Linked DNA regions of Homo sapiens: region 2 is linked to region 1. The links are contacts of gene promoters, found by promoter capture Hi-C in human tissues and cell types (Jung and others, 2019). All regions are on one chromosome and are shown on one strand. The core of a region is centred on a gene start or on the middle of the fragment in contact, and the rest is flanking DNA. Distances in the headings are between cores, read along the strand shown. Region 1 holds the start of SLC17A6 (solute carrier family 17 member 6). Region 2 overlaps SLC17A6 (solute carrier family 17 member 6).

Region 1 (4,640 bases), core at 1,528-4,027:
GCTATCCAAATACCACCACTCCACCCTGCCAAACTCCACTGGGCTGCCATCATCTTTATAGAACTACATTTCTTTTAACTATTAAGACAGACAAGAAAACATTGTCTCTTGAAATATATTCTGGACATTTTCACTCCCGGGCTGGGTTATTTAACTTGTGTAATTTCACCCATAATTGTTTGAAATTGTATTTTTGTGTCTATCTCCCAAGTAGCTTGTGAGATATTTCAGGGAGAATTCCCAGATCTAGTATTATTCTTGACACTCAATGAATATTTTTAGAATGAGTAAATCAATATTACCAGTTATTCTGATTCAGTTGCTCACCCTATTATCAAGAGAGTGGAAGAGAGAGGAGGATGACATTCATTTCAATAAAGGTGAATATAACTGTTTAAAAACAATGCTTTTGTGTTGGATTTATATTGCTTAGTGTCCCCTCATATTTGTGTATTGGAGACTTAGCTATCATGTTTACTGATGGTTTAGATAGATCTCTAGTCATTTGTGGTGCAACTTAAGCTGGAGTGCTTAGGAAAATCATTTACATATCATCACCCCAGCTTCACAAATATTTGTTGTAAATTCTATTTTTTTGTATAACTTCCCAGAATTCCAAAATCATTAATATCTCTAAATAAATATAATTTAATGAACTTAGTTATTAAAGATTTGAAAAATACAGATATTTTGAAAACACCTAGATAAGTCAAGTCCTGAATAGCTTGAATCTTTTAATCTTTTTCTTTTCTTTTTTTTTTTGCAAGGAAATAGTTTAATGAGGGTTTTTTTTTTGTCTCCTTATACTTGATCTTGAGAAATAGATAGTATTCTGAGGCATCCCATGGTTTTAGAGAAAAATTAAATTCACTGTTTTATTGAAGATACATATTTTAACACAAATTTATCAAAAAAGATAAAAATGTCTTCATTATCCTTTTCTTTATTATATTTCACAATGGAAATAATTTGACAACTATCAAACTTAATAATGGCAGATGGTTTTAGCTACTTTGACATTTTTTTCCAGCTATCCATTCAGTGAATACATAGCCATTATATCATTTGAACTATTCAGGTAATATTCTTATTTGATTCTCAATTTAGATCCATATTTTTGAGATTTTGTCTCAGGATCCTAAGTAAAATTGACTCCCTCTGTTGGCTTATGTGACATCCAAGGTTTTGACCTTGAAAATGTGGTTCAAGGCCAGTCTGTTCTGTAAGCATTGGCCTGAATTGTACTTAAGAAGTTTGTGATTCATGTGAAAGAGATTAATAATTTACATTAATCTAGCAGTTTTCTTGCTTGCTTAATGAGATAAATTCATTGATGCTGTACCTGTATATATAAAGCCAAAACTCTTACATGAATGTCTTTCAAAATTTATGCTTTAGGAGAAGGACATACAAAGAAAAATAAAATAAGATTTGAATGGAATATATGTAAATTAAAATAAATCTTTTTAAAAATAAATCTTTAAATTATCAATTACAATTTGTTGGCAAGCACAAGGTATAGCCACATATTTCATCAGTATATTGGTATTTCAGTAGTGTATTGTAAATTAGTTAAATAAAGATGCTTAAAATTCCAAGGAATTTATATTAAATTAACTGTATTTTATTTAATCAACTTCACTGAGTTTATAGCTATTCTTTTTTCTTCTCTCCATACCTCCCACCTCTTTTTCTTTATCTCTCCTTTCCTCTATTCTTCATTCTCTCCCTTTCTTTCTTTCATCTTTTTCCTGTCAGGAGTTAAAACAAACACATGAACAATGTAATTATGTATTTTGTGTGCACATATTTTATATTCAAGGGAGCCTAGGTGTCTTGGAACACCACAAGCATAAGTTAAATATGTTGAAATCTTTCTTCCCTGCAATACTGGCATCAGCGTGCTGGACAAAACGTAGCAAACTAGAAGTAACTTGTGAATTTTTAATAAAGTTGTCTTCCCTAGCAGAGCTAAATGCACCATTCTCCCTGCAAACTCTGGAGATGATGACATCTTCCCAATGGTTTCCATAGCATCCGTTCCTGAAGAGCCCCCGTATGGTCCTTGGTCAGGGCGATCCGCCCAGCTCCCCTAGAAAGTTGGCAACCTAGCTAGCCAAAAGAAGAGTCCCCTATTCCTGAAACTTACTCTGTCCGTGGTGCTGAAACATTGTACCGAGACCCGCCCAGACGGGCGCTGTCAGCCGCTGAAAAAAAAAATCTTCCCCGAGGCTGCCCAAATCAGAACTGTGTATCTTTTATTTACTCACGTCCTCAAAGAGCAGCAAGCCTTCTCCATCTTAATTTGACTCTACCGCAGAGCAGACTTACGCTGGCGTGATGGGAGGAGATCATGGGCAGAGAGGAAAAACTAATAGCAGCATTGCTCACCTGAGACCTGAGATGCTCCCATGAGTTTTGAATATGCTCTGCTCCTTACAGCAAAGACACCATTTTTAAAAGTACCATTCTTTTGACTTTGCTGTTCCCAAGGCTTCTGTGATATTCCGGCCCCTCCGTTTAAAAGCCATCAGATTTGAGAGCAATAAGTCTTCAAAACCGGGAATTTACATTGTTTTTCAGCTGACCGACTTCCAGGAAAAGGACTCAACCGCATCTACCCAAATACCGTGGCACTGCTTGCGCTCTTTGCCACCGGATCCTCCCCTTCCAATGAGACTTTCTGATTGTGTCTACCAACTCTCCTATTAGGAAACCCGTGGGTTGCATGCAGCTATTCTGTTGTATTCTCATTCTCACTCTCCCTCCCTTCTCTCACTCTCACTCTTGCTGGAGGCGAGCCACTACCATTCTGCTGAGAAGGAAAAGCCCGCAACTACTTTAAGAGATTAAGACAATATGCGCAATCCTCGCCTTTCCTAGCAATCACTATTTAAATCTGGCAAGAACTGACAACAGTCTTTGCAAGAATGGAATCCGTAAAACAAAGGATTTTGGCCCCAGGAAAAGAGGGGCTAAAGAATTTTGCTGGAAAATCACTCGGCCAGATCTACAGGTAAGACAAAGCGAACACTTGCTTACCTGGGGCTCAGCATGAAAAAATCTGCAGGGCCGTTTCCGTAAACCCTGGTGGCTCAGAAAGATTGTAATATGATCGGAAAGTCTTTTTGTTGCCCATTGCTTGGAGCGGGGGTGCTCTGGAAACCTGCTTATTAATGCAGGAATGTTGCACTAAATGAACCTGTCTGGTGTGTGTGTGTGTGTGTGTGTGTGTGTGTGTGTGTGTGTTTGATTTTTGCTTTGGTGCCTGCAGAGTTTTTGTCCTTTACTACACAGGATTTATCTTCTTTACAGTTAAGAAATGGCCAGCCCCTGCTCAAACAGCGTTTCTTTTGGTGCTTATAGATACCCCGAATTAAATTCCTTTGATGCAGACAAATGAATATAAAACACAACCATCTAAAAAAATAACCAAGAAATTCCAAAGAGTAATGGTTTATATATATATATATGTTATATATATATGTTATATATATATGTTATATATATATGTTATATATATATGTTATATATATATGTTATATATAGTTATATATATATGTTATATATATATGTTTTATATATATATATATATATATATGTTAGAGAGAGAGAGAAAGAGAGAGGTCTCAGCTTCAAAAGCATAGTAGAGAATCCCCTAGTGAAATATGTCTTCTGTATTGAATGAAGAAGAATCAAAATATATCAATAATTGATAGTTGAAGCAATTCCTTTCTCTGAGCCTGAAACAATGTATATGCATTTTTAATTATTTTCATCTCCTAGAGTCTATTTCTTGCATAGGAAATGTCAATGCCTGGAAGAACAGCCATAAATATAACAAGCAACATTACTTTGAAAGTCCTAGAAATGATTTAATTATTTAATCCTCCTGTAGTCACTATACTAATTATGCTGTAATTTGCAAAACTTTAAATCATTTCAAGTATGTTATATGGATACAGCTTTTCTTAATAATTAGAGCAAAATCAAGACGACAGGGCAGACATAAAAGGAAAAAGAATTACAAAGGAGCACTAATTTTAATATTTGGGAAATTGAAGTCTCTGTAAATGCATGAGAAATGTAAAGAAAATGATCAAACCACTCCCAGATTTTCCAAATCTCTTCAGGTTTGGCGGGCTTCATGTAGGCACGATTATGCACCTATGCGGCAGTAGATACCGCAAGGGCCCTGCAGTCCCACAGCTACCATGGAAAGGGATGTTCTTTCCCAGTACAACTGCCATCCGGTGCAGAGCTCAACTTCGTATATTTGAGCACACGAAGCAAATGCAGGAAATGAAAAAAAAAAACCGCATTGGCTGAATTTTTTTCTCCCAGTAAAAATAAATTGCAATGTTTTCTAACATTGTGATCGGACTTTAAGAATAAACATTAACCTAGCCACAAATACCTTTATGACTTATTCTCCAGGTGCTACGTTATAGAATTCGGAAGCCTGACATTTTTCTTCGGGTGGCCTCAAACTTCTTGACAGCAGTATTCCAAGCTATGCATATTTGAAATTAGTTTAAAAATTTCACTTGCTTTACCCGTGTGTGTGAAAACAATTGGGTGTTCACATAGCACTTAAAACAGCACAGGTGAAAAGCAATTACACGGTAGATTGGAAAAAA
Region 2 (5,074 bases), core at 576-3,075, 36 kb after region 1:
ATATCCACATATTAAGAAAATAGGAGAGTCAATACCCTTAAATGTTAAATCAATATGCTAAAATAGTCTAAAACTTATCTCATTAACCCTGTAGATTTTTAGCACCTTGCATTTTCCATAGTGCTTTGCACACCCTTTGCTGAAAGTGTGAAAAAATAACCATAGCTTTGTTCCTTTCTTATCCAAAGTAGTCAAAATGATTGTTCAAATAGATAGTAAATAACAGAGGATTTTCAATTAAAAAACTTTTCAGATGTATTAAATACTGGGTCAGAATGAAAGTCGTTTATGTGGACTTAGGCAATGTGGTTACTCCCAAACTTTTAGCCTGCCTTTATAAATGCCAAAAATATGCCATGTAATTCTATACAAATCCTAACATAGTGTCTTTCAGAATGTTTTTGTTGTTGTTCAAAGGTTTCTTTCTACACATTGACTGCTTGAAATATATTTACTCCATATTAAGAATAAAAAGCCTTGTACTTTTCTCAGGATGCTAGTCTCAAAAGCAATAATGATTTTTTTTTTTAATGTCAGTTTACCTGACATCTTTATTTAGGTACCTGTTGAGCCCCTGCTACATACCAAGTTTTGTACTAGACTAAGCACATTAATATATATTGTCTGATTTTATTTGATTTTTCCTTCTCATGGCAGTGGTGCTCAGCATAAAGGCTAAGAGCCCAGTCTTTCGACTCACGTAGAACTGATTCAAAACTTGGCTCTCACAATCACTTAAGTCTTCTGACTCTAAATTTTTTTTATTTAATAAGAACACTATTAAAATCATCCATCTGGGATGGAAGAGATCATTCTATAGCCTGAACAGTTAACCTACTGTGGAGTCATTTACTGTCTCAATTAATTATTACAACTCAAATCCATGATTGTGATACCTTACTATACACCAGTGTAAAATAAAATGGAATCTTTGTCTCAAACCTTCGATAATCTAATTGGAAAGACATACTTAAACACAAATTATGAATGCCATCTGCCAACAATTGTTCTTCAAAGTATACTTAGTAAAAAACTTCCTTATGTGTTTACATTCAAAGTTTATTAAGTCCACGTATGCGGTAATACATAATTCAAATGCATTTTATGTATACTTACTGTCCCCATAATGCTTACAACACAGTGCTTTGTGTGTAAGTAATGGTAAAAATATGTGTTTAACTGATCTTGGTGCGTAAAGTTTTAAATTAGGCTATTTAGCATGAAATTAATTCAGAAACTATATGCCACCATACAAAAATGTGATCAAGTATTGATATTTGACACAGAAAATACTTAAAATTGAAGAAATTATCTGCATTACCTGGGATCTTACTCTATAGAAATTATGTCTGTGCTATAAAACTCATGATATATATATTTAAAGTGCAAATATGCATTTTTCCCATATGAATTAAACATGAATTTAAAATACAGCTTCTTCAGGATGTGACAAATGTATTTTTCCTCTCTCTCTCTCTCACCACTTTTCCTCTCTTTCACTAAGGGTGTATTCGTGCAAACACATTTAACAATATCAGAAGAGTTGATTCATACTCAAAATTTACTGATGCATTACGTGGCAAAAAAAAAAAAATTACCTTCTAAAGGAATCCAAGTAAATTTAGCTTTTCTAATTTATTCTGTGGAAGGCATTACTTTTTCTAGGAATGAGTAAGTGATCATTTGGAAAGATTATTTTTCCTTCCTTTGTCCATAAAGATGTGATGACAGATTCAGAAACAAAGGCCATTAAATTGCCCATATTATTTATGGTTATGTCTATTTCTCTCCCTTCTTGTTTTTCATCAGGTTGGTATGCTATCTGCTGTGCCACACTTAGTAATGACAATTATTGTGCCTATTGGGGGACAAATTGCAGATTTTCTAAGAAGCAAGCAGATTCTTTCAACTACGACAGTGAGAAAGATCATGAATTGTGGTGGTAAGTACATAAGTGGCACTAAGGACATGTTTTTAGTTCAATCAGTTTAACCTACATGAGAGAATAACTTTTTCTACACATATCAAATTACTTAGATGCAGTTACATTTGTGCCTTCATTATTCACTTAAAATAACTTCCTCATATTACATCAAATTTTTCATAACTCCTAGTTTTAAGTAACTGCTTAATAATGCCATTTGTGGCCAGGCACGGTGGCTCATGCCTGTAATCCCAGCACTTTGGGAGGCCAAGGTGGGTGGATCACGAGGTCAGGAGTTCAAGACCAGCCTGGCCAATATAGTGAAACCCCATCTCGACTAAAAACACAAAAAATTAGCTGGGCATGGTGGTGAGTGCCTGTAAGTCCAGCTACTTGGAAGACTGAGGCAGGAGAATTGCTTGAACCTTGGAGGCAGAGGTTGCAGTGAGCCGAGATCACACCATTGCACTCCAGCCTGGGTGACAAGAGTGAAACTCCGTCTCAAAAAATAAAAATAAAAAAAATAAATAATAATGCCATTTGTATTTATTGTAACTAACTCACCTCTTCCAATCATTGAAACTTTAGGTTGTTTTGGATGTTTTTCTTTGTTTGTTTTTGTGTTTTTGAGATGGAGTTTCACTCTTGTTGCCCAGGCTGGAGTGCGATGGCATGATCTCGGCTCACCACAACCCCCGCCTCCCGGGTTCAAGCGATTCTCTTGCCTCAGCCTCCCAAGTAGCTGGGTTTACAGGCATGTGCCACCACACCCAGCTAATTTTGTATTTTTAGTAGAGTCTGGGTTTCTCCATGTTGGTCAGACTGGCCTCGAACTCCTGACCTAGGGTGATCTGCCCGCCTCGGCCTCTCAAAGTTCTGGGATTACAGACATGAGCCACCGCATCTGGCCTGGATGTTTTTATTAAACACAAGGAAAGCTTCATGAATCTCTAGGGTAAATTATTATGATTATTATGATTATTATTAGTTTTGAAGATAGACTCTCTGAAGTGGAATTTCTAGGTCAATAAGTTGGAACATTTTTAGCAGTTTTGGCTCATTGGTAAAATTTCAAAAATTTCTGAAGAATTTCTATGTGTTTGCTTCTGAAGGTTTTGGCATGGAAGCCACACTGCTCCTGGTCGTTGGCTATTCTCATACTAGAGGGGTAGCAATCTCATTCTTGGTACTTGCAGTGGGATTCAGTGGATTTGCTATATCTGGTAAGATATAATTTTTTTTCTTTGTACTTGGGACATTCTGATTTTGACTGCTGATAAAAGACACATACATATACCTTTTTATAGATATCTTCATATATATATTCTATATGTTGAATAATAGTCAAATATTTCCACTAGAAAATGAAAAAAATAAAATATTGAGAAAACATTTAGATTTGTTAATACTCAATTTCCTCCTGGACTGCCTTTTTTTGTTGTTGTTAAGAAAACATTACCTCTTCTCTGTGGAGTGAACATCACATATTAAGTATTAGATAAGAATTCATACCTCATTCTATTCTCATTATATCCCCGAGAGAAATTATCACAAAGTAATTAAGCACGTGTTCTGTACCCAGTATATTTTAAGGAGTTGTGATGTGTGGTTCTATAGGTATTTACTTCTAAGACGTTTAGGATGCCCTGAGTCAAAACTTATGTGTGTATTTCAGGTTTCAATGTTAACCACTTGGATATCGCTCCAAGATATGCCAGTATCTTAATGGGCATTTCGAATGGTGTTGGCACATTGTCAGGAATGGTTTGTCCTATCATTGTTGGTGCAATGACAAAGAATAAGGTAAGATGGTCAAAACAGATGTTTAGTCATAGAAGACAGTTTCTCAAAATGATAATCTTTTTGGAAAAGAGTTAAAATATTATCCTTAGCATTTTCTTTCTTGTCCAGTCACCACATCTCTGAGTGGGAAATATAAATGAGGCTCAGAATACAGTATCTTTTTAAGAATTCCAAGAAAGTCCATTTCCCTAACCAATAACCAATATGTTTCTCAACCCTTTTTAATAATTCTAATACCCCTGATGTGATAAAAACCCCTTTTGTCTCTAGCTTATTAAAATACTCAAGCAGATGTCTTCTGAGCTTTGTTTGTAAACCTCAATTCAGACTCCTCTGCAGTTGTCCAAGGAACAATATTATCATCAGCTATTTGTACTTATATGTGTATGCAGAGCTTTAAAATTCTGGTTTACTACAAGTAAAGAAACAAAGGAAATGGAATAAAAAGATAAGTAAATCAATGGAAAAAAAGAGATTATGAATATTTTAAAAATCAGCAGGCCATAGATATATTTGTAATTTTATTTCTAAACTTTTAGATTTAAAACATTAAATAATAAAAGTAATAGTATTACAGAAGTGTTATATAGTTTTTGCTTTACATAATCAGGATATGGATTTTTCCCAAATATAGTGTTTTATGAAAACTCAGTGGTGGTGCATTCAGAGAAGATGTTAGGCGTTTAAATCATGGGGAGTCAGTTCTCACAGTGCTGCTTTTTCTCACTGCAGTCACGTGAAGAGTGGCAGTATGTCTTCCTGATCGCTGCCCTAGTCCACTATGGTGGAGTTATATTTTATGCAATATTTGCCTCAGGAGAGAAACAACCCTGGGCAGACCCGGAGGAAACAAGTGAAGAAAAATGTGGATTTATTCATGAAGATGAACTCGATGAAGAAACAGGGGACATTACTCAAAATTATATAAATTATGGTACCACCAAGTCTTATGGTGCCACAACACAGGCCAATGGAGGTTGGCCTAGTGGTTGGGAAAAGAAAGAGGAATTTGTACAAGGAGAAGTACAAGACTCACATAGCTATAAGGACCGAGTTGATTATTCATAACAAAACTAATTACTGGATTTATTTTTAGTGTTTGTGATTAAATTCATTGTGATTGCACAAAAATTTTAAAAACACGTGATGTAAACTTGCAAGCATATCAACCAGGCAAGTCTTGCTGTAAAAATGAAAACAAAACAAACCCATGAGGTTACCATCAAGTGCAATCTGTAAAATTGTGAAGTTCCATCATTTCCATTCAAGTCATCCATTCTTGCATTTGTGACTTAAAGGTTGACTGGTCAAAATTGTAGAAACAAGTAGTTACCCATTGGATTCATA

The links. Contacts are between HindIII fragments. The study calls those that stand out against the background at their distance.
Region 2: a contact is called between a fragment that was not itself captured here and the fragment with the promoter of SLC17A6 in region 1, in 1 of the 25 tissues and cell types used here (adrenal gland).

The regions. Positions count from the first base shown.
Region 1 is chr11:22,335,604-22,340,243 of GRCh38, forward strand. It overlaps SLC17A6 (solute carrier family 17 member 6), which reads left to right and starts at 2,778. Exons shown (of 12, transcript NM_020346.3): 1 at 2,778-3,016. The coding sequence starts at 2,931. It overlaps SLC17A6-DT (SLC17A6 divergent transcript), which reads right to left and starts at 2,619. Exons shown (of 4, transcript NR_186351.1): 1 at 2,392-2,619. The HindIII fragment of the contact is 11,384 bases long and covers 1-4,640 here.
Region 2 is chr11:22,372,946-22,378,019 of GRCh38, forward strand. SLC17A6 (solute carrier family 17 member 6) reads left to right here. Exons shown (of 12, transcript NM_020346.3): 9 at 1,810-1,942; 10 at 3,037-3,147; 11 at 3,600-3,727; 12 at 4,460-5,074. The coding sequence ends at 4,795. Among named protein-coding and RNA genes, the nearest start is that of SLC17A6, 37 kb to the left of the region's middle. The HindIII fragment of the contact is 8,185 bases long and covers 1-5,074 here.